2 separate regions of the Homo sapiens genome follow, and region 1 is linked to region 2. The links are contacts of gene promoters, found by promoter capture Hi-C in blood cells and fetal thymus (Javierre and others, 2016). All regions are on one chromosome and are shown on one strand. The core of a region is centred on a gene start or on the middle of the fragment in contact, and the rest is flanking DNA. Distances in the headings are between cores, read along the strand shown.

The links. Contacts are between HindIII fragments. The CHiCAGO score rates a contact against its expected background, and 5 or more counts as called.
Region 1: a fragment that was not itself captured here is called in contact with the fragment with the promoter of LPAR2 in region 2 in 1 of 17 cell types (neutrophils); the score reaches 6.1 in neutrophils.

Annotation. Positions count from the first base shown.
Region 1 is chr19:21,021,465-21,028,178 of GRCh38, forward strand. ZNF430 (zinc finger protein 430) reads left to right here. Exons shown (of 5, transcript NM_025189.4): 2 at 1,325-1,417. Among named protein-coding and RNA genes, the nearest start is that of ZNF430, 4.2 kb to the left of the region's middle. RefSeq lists enhancers at 1-68, 2,714-3,214. The HindIII fragment of the contact is 2,121 bases long and covers 476-2,596 here.
Region 2 is chr19:19,625,458-19,631,760 of GRCh38, forward strand. It overlaps LPAR2 (lysophosphatidic acid receptor 2), which reads right to left and starts at 2,763. Exons shown (of 3, transcript NM_001395660.1): 1 at 2,635-2,763; 2 at 1,086-1,827. The coding sequence starts at 1,818. It overlaps GMIP (GEM interacting protein), which reads right to left. Exons shown (of 21, transcript NM_016573.4): 20 at 5,014-5,080; 21 at 4,019-4,879. The coding sequence ends at 4,506. RefSeq lists silencers at 2,514-3,013, 3,384-3,513 and an enhancer at 3,151-4,073. The HindIII fragment of the contact is 41,803 bases long and covers 1-6,303 here.

The DNA.
Region 1 (6,714 bases), core at 286-2,785, 1.4 Mb after region 2:
CTACAGCCTGTGTAACAGAGCAAGACTCCGTCTCGGAAAAAAAAAATGTACAGAAGTCACCACAAAAATATTAAAGAAATTAATCAAAGAGTGATTAAAAAACTGTTGAGCACCCAGCTGTGGTTTGTAATTTGTTGTTCATGGCGGGGCTTGAAGGAAAGACTTTTATAAGGTGCATGATGAAGAAAGCCAAATTCAGTAATTGGTTAGGTACCGTTATGTAGTTTCTTAGTTTGTACAATAAAGGTGAAAATTTTCTGGTTGTGTAATCAGACCTTAATTGGCAGTATACAGTTGATTAAGCCTGAATTTTGTGTCTTTCAATGTAGTAATTTTCAAAACGATGCGCCTGAGTTAGATTTTTTTTTTTTTTTTTTTTTTTTTTTTTTGAGATGGAGTCTCGCTCTTGTCGCCCAGGCTGGAGTGCAGTGGCACAATCTCGGCTCACTACAACTTCTGCCGCTGCCTGTGTTCAAGCTTCTCCTGCCTCAGCCTTTTGAGTAGCTGGAATTACAAGCGCCTGCCACCCTGCCCAGCTAATTTTTGTACTTTTAGTAGAGACGGGGTTTCACCATGTTGGCCTGGCTGGCCTCGAACTCTTGACCTCAGGTGATCCGCCTGCCTTGGCCTCCCAAAATGCTGGGATTACAGGCGTGAGCTATCACGCCCAGCCACGTTAGATCTTTTTAAAAGTAGGAACCCAGGGTCTAGAGACACCTCAGTCTAATTGCCTGCCACTCAATTATTTTCACACTCCACGGGGAACTGATTTTCTGCTGCATTTTTCACCTGTGTCCCAAGCAGGGTCTTAAGTCTAACCCCCGTCCCCCATTTCTCCAGCCTCACTCTGGCTTGCAGTAAGATACTAAATTTCCAGTTCTTTCTGGCGTTCCCAAATGCCAACTTTTCCTACCTAATTCACATTATCACCTATTTGTCCTTTAGTGTACATTTTTTACACCGTATTTTAATTAGTTATTTTCTGACAAAGTATTAAATGGTGCTTTTAATAAGATTTGTTATCTGTTTGTAAATATTTCCCATGTGAAGAAAGCAAAGAATAATCCCCTGACACTGTGTTGTAAAAACTCTCTGTGCTTCTTCTCCTTGTATCTTCTCTGGGCACAGAGATCTTGTCTCAGGATGTTTTTGGGTCAGGGTTTTCCTTTGGAAACTTTATGGGGTGTTGTGTCCTCAGTCACCCTTCAGTTTTTTTCTGGTCCTGGGTTTCAGTATTGTCTGGGGATAAACCAAGATATCCGCCATGGTTATGTCAGTTAGAGTGTCTAGTGGATATCAGCTTCTGGGTTATTTTCTCCCATAGGAGAACCTGAAGTCTGGAGTGTATCCTCTCAAGGAAGCAAGTGGATGCCCTGGGGCTGACAGGAATCTTCTGGTGTACTCTTTTTATGAAAAGGTAACCCCTTGAGATGTTAAAATTGTCTTCACCCAACCCAGCTTTCATTTCTTGGAGACACATTGCTGGTCAACCAATCAGACTGTGGCATTGAGGGGAAAACAAATAATTTTTGCCTCTGGATTGTCTAAGGGGGCAGAAAAATAGTGAAATAACTATAGTGAAAGTAAAATAGTGGAAAAAAGTGGAACATTTGTGACAGAAAAAATAGTATCCCAAAAGACAAAAAGAAAAAGAAAAACACTGACCCCAGTGAGATGGCGTAAGAACTTGCAAAGTTAAATGCCCGTGGGACAGTCACTGGGGCATAGTGTGGTATCTCCTGAGTGGGTGGTTCTTGAGCACATAAGTGAGCAGGAGTGGGTGGAAGACTGTTTGAAGTGATTGAATGGCCTGACTTGAAACATGAGTCAGACACATCTGTTTTTTCATCAGCACTGCCACTCCCTGGGTTTGTCACCTTGAAAAGATTTGTTCATTTATTTTAACCTCAGTTTTTTAGCTGTAAATTCTATTAGTAGGGCTTGAAAGGTAGGAAAATATTTACCAAAGGCATAAAAGTGGTGGGTTTAAGAAAAAAAATAGTATCTAATAATATATTCCATTCATTAAAAATTCTCTATTCCCTTTTTACCCCCAGGGTGAGTTTAGGAATTTTCTCAGGTGTGTTTTTTATGGCTGGGTGATTTCAAACAGAATTCTAAGGCTCAGCTTTTAGAATGCTACCAAGGAAATGAGTAGGGAAAATCTCTGTTCCATTTTTTTGTAGAAAATAAATACATTTCTACAAGAAAATGTGGTAGATAATTGGTGAGTTACATACATTCATGAAAACATGAGTTTCTCTCTCTGCAGGGTAAATTTGTGACAGTAAACATCTCTGTTCAAATCCTGTTATCTTGATTTCTGAGTTTCATGCTAAATTTTATGAGATGAAACTTGGTACCACCTAGAAGTTTTCCCATATGACTAACTGTTTACTAAATGATTCTTAATGGAATTCATAAAATAATGCATACATTATGTGAAAGAAATAGATATTTTGCTTTTTTTATTGAGGTATAAATTGCAAACACCTTAAAATTTCCTTCCCTTGTATGAACACTGTGACTAATTTTGCTAGATTTTTCAAACACATAGTTTCAAAAACCAAGTGAGTAACTCTAACATAGAAATTAAAGCTTGAGCCCAGTGACTCAGAGCTAAGGCTAATATTGAGCCTGCAAAAGGAGTTTATTACAGGCCCAGTTAGTTTTTTTTCTGGGGAGCCTCCCCTGCAGATGTCCTAGCCTGCTCACTCTAGCTGTGGAAGAAGCTTTTCTGCTGAGAGAAGCTACAGAGTCCTGGAAAGGTGGGGACCCACAGGCAGATGCAGTTAAGGTTAAGATGGTAGGAGATTGAGAGGGTCTTACTGATGATAAAGTTGTTAATGTTTGAAGGCAGTTTCTAGACTTTGTAATACCTAACAAAGTTAGATTTATGTTAAAAATTTGAATTCCAAAGGACTATTGCAACAGGAGGAAATACCAACTGTAAGAACCTTAAGGATTGCAAAGTTTAGGCAGAAAAGGGCTTTCTTTCATGGGGAGGAGCAAACAAAATTAGAAGTTGGAGACGGCCGGATGCTGTGGCTCACACCTGTAATCTCAGCACTTTGGGAGGCCGAGGCAGGCGGATCATGAGGTCAGGAGATGGAGACCATCCTGGCTAACATGGTGAAACCCCGTCTCTACTAAAAATACAAAAAAATCAGCCGGGCGTGGTCACGGGCGCCTGTAGTCCCAGCTACTCGGGAGGCTGAGGCAGGAGAATGGCGTAAACCCAGGAGGTGGAGCTGGCAGTGAGCCTAGATCGCGCCACTGCACTCCAGCCTGGGTGACAGGGCCAGATTCCATCTTAAAAAAAAAAAAAAGAAGTTGGAGGTGACTGACAAATGAAGGGTGAAATAATCAGATTTTAGATCAGAGAATGTTTTACCCTGAAGTCAGCATGTTCTTAGGAGGGACATAAAATGGAGTTGTATATTGGCTCAGATTGAGGGTAGCTCCAAGTTCAGGAGCCTGTGAAAAATTTTATTTAGACCACTGAAGACAAATTCAGCTGATTTTTTTAAATGAGAAAAAGAAAATGTGCAGAGTTCTTATCGGAAAGGGGTCACAATCCACACCCCAAGAGAGGGTTCTTGGATTTCGCTCAAGAAAGAATTCAGGGTGAGTCTACAGAGTAAAGTAAAAGCAAGTTTATTAGGAAACAGAAGGAATAAAAGAATGGCTTACTCTATAGGCAGAGCAGCCCTGAGGGCTGCTGGTTGCCCATTTTTATGGTTATTTCTTGATTATATGCTAAACAAGGGGTGGATTATTTTTGCCTCCCAATTAGACAATATAAAGTCATTTTCTGATGTTTCCATGATGTCTCCATGGCATTTTGTAAACTGTCATGGCACTGGTGGGAGTGTAGCAGTGAGGACCACCAAAGGTCACTCTCATCCCATCTTGGTTTTGGTGAGTTTTATCCACCTTCTTTACTGCAACCTGTTTTATCACCCAGATCTTTATAACCTGTATCTTGTGCTGAACTCTTGTCTCATCCTGTGACTTAGAATGCCTAACCATCTGGGAGTGCAGCCCCATAGGTCTCAGCCTCATTTTACCCAGCCCCTATTCGAAATGGATTTGCCCTGATTCAATACACCTCTGACATTTCTCCTTTTTTTTTTATCTGAGACGGAGTCTCACTCTGTTGCCCAGGCTGGAGTGCAACGGCATCATCTCGGCTCACTGCAACCTCCACCTACCAGGTTCAAGTATTTCTCCTGCCTCAGCCTCCCCAGTAGCTGGGATTACAGGCGCCTACCACCATGCCTGGCTAATTTTTGTACTTTTTTTTTTTTTTTTTTCAGTCCAATCAGTTTACTCTGCTTTCTCCATCTCCTCCTCCCATTAGTCAGCCATTGGAACTGGGAAACCTCCTACTTTCCCCCTCTTTGTACTCTTTCCACAATTCATCTTGTCTTTCTGCAGCCATATCTTCTTAATACAGACTGAAGTTTCTGTCATTGAGAACAGAGTGATCCATAAACCTGGTCATCACACTTTTTATGAGATAGTAATGTGGGCCCCAGATCCATGGCATGGTTTCCTCTGGATGCACTCCTGGATCTAATTTTTGTATTTTTAGTAGAGACGGGGTTTCACCATGTTGACCAGGATGGTCTCCGTCTCTTGACCTCATGATCCACCTGCCTCGGCCTCCCAAAGTGCTGGGATTACAGGCATGAGCCATCATGCCTGGCCGTAATCTCTGACTTTTTTTTTTTTTTCTTGAGACGGAGTCTCACTGTGTTGCCCCGGCTGGAGTTCAGTGGCACGATCTCAGCTCACTGCAACCTCCGCCTCCCAGGTTCAAGTTATTCTCCTGTCTCAGCCTTCTGAGTAGCTGGGATTATAGGCGCACGCCACCACGCCTGGCCAGTTTTTGTATTTTTAGTAGAGATGGAGTTTCACCATGTTGATCAGGCTGGTCTCAAACTCCTGACCTTGTGATCTGCCTGCCCCAGCCTCCCAAAGTGCTGGGGTTACAGGCGTGAGCCACCGTGCCCGGCCAATCTCTGACTTCTTTAAGCAGTGTTTTGTGATTCTTGTCATAGGGATCTTTCACCATTCTGATTAGCTGTATTCCTAGATATTCTATTCTTTTTGTGGCAATTGTGAATGGGATTATGTTTTTGATTTGGCTTTTGGCTTGGATGTTTTGATGTACAGAGATTCTACTGATTTTTGTACGTGTATTTTGTATCCTGAAACTTTGCTAAAGTTGTTTATTAGTTTAAAGAGCTTTCCTGCTGAGACTATAGGGTTTTGAAGATATAGAATCATGTCATCTGCACACAGGGATAGTTAGACTTCCTTTCTTCCTGTTTGGATGCCTTTTTTCTTTTCTTTTCTTTTTTTTTTTTTTTTTTTTTTTGAGACAGAGTCTTGCTCTCGCCAGGCTGGAGTGCAGTGGTGTGATCTCGGCTCACTGCAACCTCCGCCTCCCAGGTTGAAGCGATTCTCCTGCCTCAGCCTCCTGAGTAGCTGGGACTACAGGCACATGCCACCATGCCAAGCTAAGTTTTGTATTTTTAGGAGAGACGGGGTTTCACCATGTTGGCCAGGATGGTCTCGATCTCTTGACCTCGTGATCTGCTCACCTCAGCCTCCCAAAGTGCTGGGATTACAGGCGTGAGCCCCCATGCCCGGCAGATGCCTTTTATTTTCATCTCTTCTCTGATTGCTCTGGCCAGGATTTCCAATTTTATGTTGAATAGGATGTTTGAGAGAAGGCATCCTTATCTTGTGCCAGTTTTCAAGGAGGAATGCTTCCAGCTTGTGTCCATTCAGTGTGTTGGCTGTAAGTTTGTCGTTGATGTCTCATTGTTTTGAAGTATATACCTTCAATGCCTAGTTTGTTAAGGGTTTTAAACATGAAAAATGTTAAATTATATTGAAAGTATTTTTAGCATCTATTGAGATAATCTTGGTATTTGTTATTAGTTCTCTTTATGTGATGAATAACATTTATTGATTGTATATGGAACCAACTTGCCTCCCAGAGATGCAGCCTACTTGATTATAGTGGATTAGCTTTTTGATGTTCTTCTGAATTCAGTTTCCCAGTATTTTGTTGATGGTATTTTCATCAATGTTCATCAAGGATATTGGCTTGAAGTTTTCTTTTTTTTTTAATCTCTGCCAGGTTTTGATATCAGAATGATGCTATTCTTATATATAATGAGTTGAAAAGGAGTCCTTTCTTTTCAATATTTTGAAGTATTTTTAGTAGAAGTGGTACTAGCTCTTTTTTGTACATCTGGTAGAGTTCAGCTAGGAATTTGTCTGGTTCTTTGCTTTTTTTTGGCTAGTAGGCTATTTCTTACTAATTCAATTTTGGAGCTTGTTATTGGTCTATTCAGGGATTCAGTTTCTTATTTGTTCAGTCTCTGGAAAATGTGTCTTTGCTCCCAGGTTACTATTCTCAAGCTTGGCCCAAATAAACTCTTATATTCATGTTGCCTCAGCTTTTTCCTTTTAGGTAGTCATATCACGTAGAATGAGCTAGAGCAGCCTCTATGAGGGGATCTCTCCTTTGATTGTACTCCACTTGCTGTAACACCCAAGAATGCAGAGTGTGGTTGATCCTACCTAGAATCTGCACATAAGGTCTGGCCTCTTCCTGGGATTTACAGGACACGGCCAGACTTTAGGTTGAGAATGTACAGAAAACCAACAGGAGGCATTTTCTCCATTGTGAGT
Region 2 (6,303 bases), core at 1,513-4,012:
CCTGTATCTTAAAAACAAAAATAAATTTTGAAATTTAAAAATATGGGCCGGGCGTGGTGGCTCATGCTTGTAATCCCAGCACTTTGGGAGGCCAAGGCGGGTGGATCACGAGGTCAAGACATCGAGACCATCCTGGCCAACATAGTGAAACCTGGTCTCTACTAAAAATAGAAAAATTAGCCAGGCATAGTGGCACGCACCTGTAGTCCCAGCTACTCAGGAGGCTGAGGCAGGAGAACCACTTGAACCTGGGAGGCAGAAGTTGCAGTGAGCCGAGATTGCGCCACTGCACTCCAGCCTGGGTGACAGAGCGAGACTCTGTCTCAAAAAAAAAAAAAAAAAATTAAAAATACATATAGATTAAAAAACAATTTAAAGGCTTTTTGTTAAAACAGGCTTAGCACTGCTAAAAACTCCTTTTTTTTTTTTTTTTCTGAGACAGAGTTCTGGAGTTTCGCTCTTGTTGCCCAGGCTGGAGTGCAATGGTGTGATCTCGGCTCACCACAACCTCCGCCTCCTGGGTTCAAGCAATTCTCCTGCCTCAGGCTCCCGAGTAGCTGGGATTACAGGCACACACCACCATACCTGGCTAATTTTGCATTTTTAGTAGAGATGGGGTTTCTCCATGTTGGTCAGGCTGGTCGTGAACTCCCAACCTCAGCTGATCTGCCCGCCTCGGCCTCCCAAAGTGCTGGGATTACAGGCGTGAGCCACTGTGCCCGGCTAGCACTGCTAAAAACTCTTAAGGGGTTCCCATGAAACTCAAAATAAGACTCCTGTCCGTGCCCCTTAAGGCCTTGCTGATCTCTCCTCCTCACAAGCCCACTTTCCTCTTTAGAGGCTCTGGCCTCGTACTGCCTTGAGGTTTTTACTTTCCGTTTCCTCTGCCTGGAAGGCTCTCTGTTCCTATCCTCAGCATTCAGGCCTCTGCTCACATACATTATCACCTCCTTGGAGGACATTCCCCACCTAAATCATCCCCCATCACCCTCTATCAGGTAGCTTGTTTTGTTCATTGCTTCGCAGTGTCTTGTGGGAGATAGGGGGAAGCAGGGTCCCTGTTGCCCCCTGGGGGCCCCACTTACCCAGGATGATGACAACAGTCTTGACCAGGCTGAGCGTGGTCTCTCGGTAGCGGGGGTGGCAGCTGACATGCTCTGCCATGCGCTGCACTCGCCGCCGCACGTAGAAGAAAATGCGGGTGTACACAGCCACCATGAGCAGGAAGACAAGCAGGCTCGACAGAGCCCAGACGGCCAAATAGGAGCGGCTGAGCAGGGGTGCCATGCGTGAGCAGCGGTCCAGGGCACAGAGGCAGTGCCAGGAGTGGGCAGGCAGCAGCCCCAGGCCCAGGGCAGCCACCCACACGCCCACAATGAGCATGACCACGCGGCCACGGGGCAGGCGGCTGTGCAGCTGCACGGCCATCACACTGCGGTGCCGCTCCACGGCGATGGCCAGCAGTGTGGCCACCGACGCAGTGAGGCTTGTGTCCAGCAAGCCCTGCCGCAGGAACCAGCCCTCAAGTGAAAGTCGGGCTGTGCGGGGACCAGTGTGGAACATGAGGAAGAGGTAGGCCACGCCCGCGAAGAGGTCAGCCGCGGCCAGATTGCCGAGCAGGTAGTAGATGGGCTGGTGGAAGCGGCGGTTGGAGGCGATGGCTGCTATGACCAGCAGATTGGTCAGCAGCACCAGCACGCTGACGGTCAGCCCCAGTGCCACCACGACCACATCCTTGGGCCGCCAGTGGGAGCTGAGCTCTTTGCCACTGTTGTTATAGAAGAAGCCGATGGTCTCGTTGTAGTAGCACTGGCCCATGATGACCATCTGGGGACACAAGAGATCAGTGCATGTGGCACTTCTTGGAAGGACACAGGGAGGGGCGGCAGCTGCAGAGGAGGGTCAGCGCAGGAAGGACAAGGGTCTCAAATTCAGATACCTCGAAGCAAAGTGGCAGTGGTGAGGACTACGGTGGCCTGGAAAAAGCAAGCTCCATGGGGCTGGGGTGGAGGTGGAGGAGCAGCTGTTTCTTACCTACTAATAAGACCTGTGTGCAAGACATCACCCAAGTCAATAGGTTTTTGAACCAGAAGTGAAACAAAACCCATCTATGGTCGAATCCCAGCCCACCTGCCGCCAATGTGTGACCCGGTTTGGGTTGTGGGGAGAGGAGGGTTAGGGAAAGACAAAGGGGTGTGAGCTGCGGGAAGAGATGAGGGAGGATCACTTTGGTGCCGGAGTCAGTGTAGGGAGCAGAGACCCGGGAGCGTGTGCACACAAGGGTGAGGTCACTTGCTAGAACCCTGCGAGGGGGCGGTGCCGAGGCGTGGAGGTGATCGGAGTGGACAGAGAGGCGGCCCCAGAAGTTAGTCGGCGGGATTTGGGCGCGAGTGCTTCCCAAGCGGGCGGGGCAATAGGCTGTTCCGGGTGGGACGGAGGACACTGGCGGTCTCCGGGACAAAGACAGCGGTTGGGGAAGGGATGGATGGCCGGGCCTCCAGGCGTCTCCAGACTGGGGAAGGGGTAGGGGGTTAAGGGATCAGAGGGCGGCGTCCTGGCCCCGCAGGCACGTGCCGCGCCCTTCCCCCGGGCCCAGGCCCGCACCCGCCCGCCTCCCGTCCGTGCAGGCCTCACCTGGGCCTCCAGTCACGCCGCAGACAAGGCGGGCTCGCGGGGGTTCGGGGCGGGCTCGAGGCCCATGGCCCGGCGACTGCGGCGGGAGCGGTAGAGCGTCCGGGTGCGCCCTGTGCGGGTTGCTGAGAGGGCGCGGGAGGCGGGGTCTCCCCGGCGCCCCGCCCCCACCACCTGGGGGAGCCCTGCCCCGCCCCGCCACCTGGGGGAGCCCCGCCTCCACGGCCGCGTCGGGGGCGGTGTCGCCCGGAACCGCAGCCCCCCTGTTTCCTCCCCGCCTCGCGGCCCCTCAGTCGCCCCTATTTCCGGCGCGGGACCCCCACCCCGGTACCTGCACACCTCATGCGCCCGCAGTTTCGAGCCTGCGGGGCTGAGTCACTCGGCGACCCGAAAATTCCCGCCGTGACCCCGCGCTGCCCGGGCGGAGCTCCAGGTGGTCTTGGGTCCGCGCCCCCGCTCCGGACCCCCAACCCTCCCAGCCCCACCCCGCTCTCTTCTTCGTGTCCAATCGGCCGCCGAGTTACAAGCCACTCCCTGATCCGACTTGGCTCCCACCGCCCGGACCCCCGCCCAGCTTCGGCTTTGCCAGCTCGCAGTATCAGCGAGCCGCGGCCTCCTGTGCGAGGCCCACCTCTGCGGCCCCAGCTGATCATCGGGCGCACGCTAGGGTTTTGCAATCCCGCCCCCGTACCCCTCACCCTGGGACAGCGCTGCCCCCTGCAAAGCCCGGCCCTGCCCTGCCCTGCCCTGTGGCTTCCTCCCTCGGCCTCCCTGCGGCGGCCCCGGGCTCCCACGGTCCGGAGCACACAGCCCCATTGTCCCGGTTATCGGTACTTTGTTATACTGTATTTGATTATGCAGGACCGGATCGGGGACGCAGAGCTCCGGGAGGGCCGGGCTGGCGTGACTCAGCCGGGTGCTGCGACCCAGCTCCAACTGCCTTTACGTAGGTGCTGCAGGGTGTTTGATGATGCAAGAAGGAGGCCTTGAGGCCGGGCGCAGTGGCTCACGCCTGTAATCCCTGCATTTTGGGAGGCCGATGCGGGACGATCACGAGATCAGGAGATCGAGACCATCCTGGCCAACATGCTGAAACCCCGTCTCTACTAAAAATACAAAAAAATTAGCCGGGCATGGTGGCAGGCGCCTGTAGTCCCAGCTACTCGGGAGGCTGAGGCAGGAGAATCGCTTGAACCCGGGAGGTGGAGGTTGCAGTGAGCGGAGATCGTGCCACTGCACTCCAACCTGGAGACAGAGCAAAACTCCGTCTCAAAAAAAAAAAAAAAAAAAAAAAAAAAAGAGGCCTTGATTCCCCTAATCTGTAAAATGGGGGCAAGGAGTGCTACCCATGCTGGCCTCTCCCCTAGCAGAGATGCACCCAAGGGCATATAGGACACAGTTTATTAGAGGCCATCAGACCTCAGGCACCACCAGCATGTGGAGTCTGAGCTGCCCACCTCCTCCAGGAAGGTCACTTCGAGTCCGTGAAGGAGGCAGGCAGGTGTGGGGGAGTGACCACAACCAAAGTAGCAAAAGCACCCCTGTCCCAGGTGTCAGAGACTAGGGTGGACCCCAAGGATCTCATAACCTGCACTGACCCTGAGTATTGACCCTGAGTGACCTCTGAGCCCGAGTGGCCCTGATGCTTGGCAGTGACCTGTGTCTAGTGGGGGGACTCTGGGACATTATCCCCAAAAGGGTTTTAGGCCTCCCCTAGGTCATGTATTAAATAGTTTTTCCTTATAGGAACCCTCTGGACCTCTCCCAGCATTGAACTCCTGGCGGGGTGTTTGGCCACTAGGTGGTGGGAGGTAGGGATATATGGGTCCGTCTTCACAATCTGGGCCTCTTCCTTATTTAAGGTGCCAGGGTGGTCAGAGATGGTCCTCGGCTTCCTCAGGCTGGACGTCCGGGCAGCAGGTGGCCCTGGGCACAGCCTCGCTGTCCAATTTCGAGAGTAGCCGGGCTGTCTCCTGGGTAATCTCAAAATGCTTGGGCAGCGGGGTGCGGCGCAGGGGGCTGCCCTCAGGGGAGGCAGCTGCAGGGCTGGGCCCCCGCCCCCGCAAACTCCCTCTGGGCACTGATGTGATGGGGGTCTCCTCGCACAGCTTGGAAGCCACCAGGGCCAGACTGGACAGCTGGTGGGTTACAGGCCTCACACCGCCCCGGGGATACTTCACTGGCTGGCGGCTGAAGTGGCCACGAGACTGTGTCCCCAGGAGTGAGTCCTCTGGGCCTTGGCTGGACACTGTGTACGGGGTGGGTGGTCAGTGCAGAGCACCTCCAAGTTCTCTGTATATCCCCCCAGGAGTCATCTTTTAGCAAGCCACCCTGGGGCCAGGGCACCCCCAGAACTCCTGAGCCTCTCTCTAACATACTCACCTTCCCCTCCCCCATCTTTGGTGTCTTCAGCCACGTCCTCTCTCTGGTCACTCTGTGGAGTTGGAATCTGCAGGGAGAAACCCAAGAATGAGACCCCAACACTAAAATCCCAGTTCTTTGAGATTCCTGGAGAGCCAAGGGCTTGTTCCTGGACATGCAAAAGGAATAGCCAGTGCAAAGGCCCTGAGGTAGGAGCATGCCTGGTATGTTAGGACGCAGCCCCACCCTGTAATGAATGAGGGAAAGGTGGTAGGAAGTGAGACCAAAGAGGAGTGGGCCCAGGTGGCTCTGCCAGCCACCCCTGACTTTGCACCTACTCTGCACTGGGTGTGGACTACCATTGAACTCCTCCTATGCACAGGGCATGGACCACCACTGACTGTGCACCTGTCATCCTTTGCAGTTTTGGTGTTTGGGGATAGACGATGCCCTTATAAGTGTACTGCTTGGCCAGGCATGGTGGTGCATGCCTGTAATCCCAGCACTTTGGGAGGCTGAGGTTGGTGGATTATCTGAGGTCAGGAGTTCGGGACCAGCCTGGCCAACATGGTGAAACTCCGTCTCTACTAGAAATACAAAATTTAGCCGGGCGTGGTGGTGCATGCCTGTAATCCCAGCTACTAGGGAGGCTGAGGCAGGAGAATCGCTTGGACCTGGGAGGTGGAGATTGCAGTGAGCTCAGATCATGCCCCTGCACTCCAGTCTGGGTGACAGAATGAGACTCCGTCTCAAAAATAATAATAAGTGTACTGCTTGCCCTTCCAGCATAGAGCAGTGTCATTCATTGAGTCTGGACCGTGGGCTCCATGAGGGTGGGAAAATCCTTGTTTAGCAAATGGCCAGCCCAGGGAGTGGCTCAGCCCTCTCCACATTAGGACCAGGTGGTGCCTCTGAACTACTATCCTGGGCTGCTCTCTGCAACCTTACCAACTTTACTGTTCCATCCTTAGCTAAATGGTTGGCAGTGTCTACACATCAGACACTGTCCCGAGCACTTTATGAGGCATTCCAGCTCTCAGAGACCCACAGTTCACCAGCAGCCGCTTCCCAGCTCTGGGCTGCTGCAGGAGAGATCCTTGCTCTCAGGAATGGCAGATGCAGCAAGATACCAGCAGCACAGGCCTTGGGCATGGACTGTTCTAGCAATCCGGAGCAGCGGGTGCTGCTATCTTCCTGGTTCACAGCTGAGCTCTGGATCCAGACTGGTGACCTTTGTTAAAGATTCTACGCCAGGCGGCCGGGTGCAGTGGCTCCAGCCTGTAATCCCAGCACTTTGGGAGGCCGAGGCGG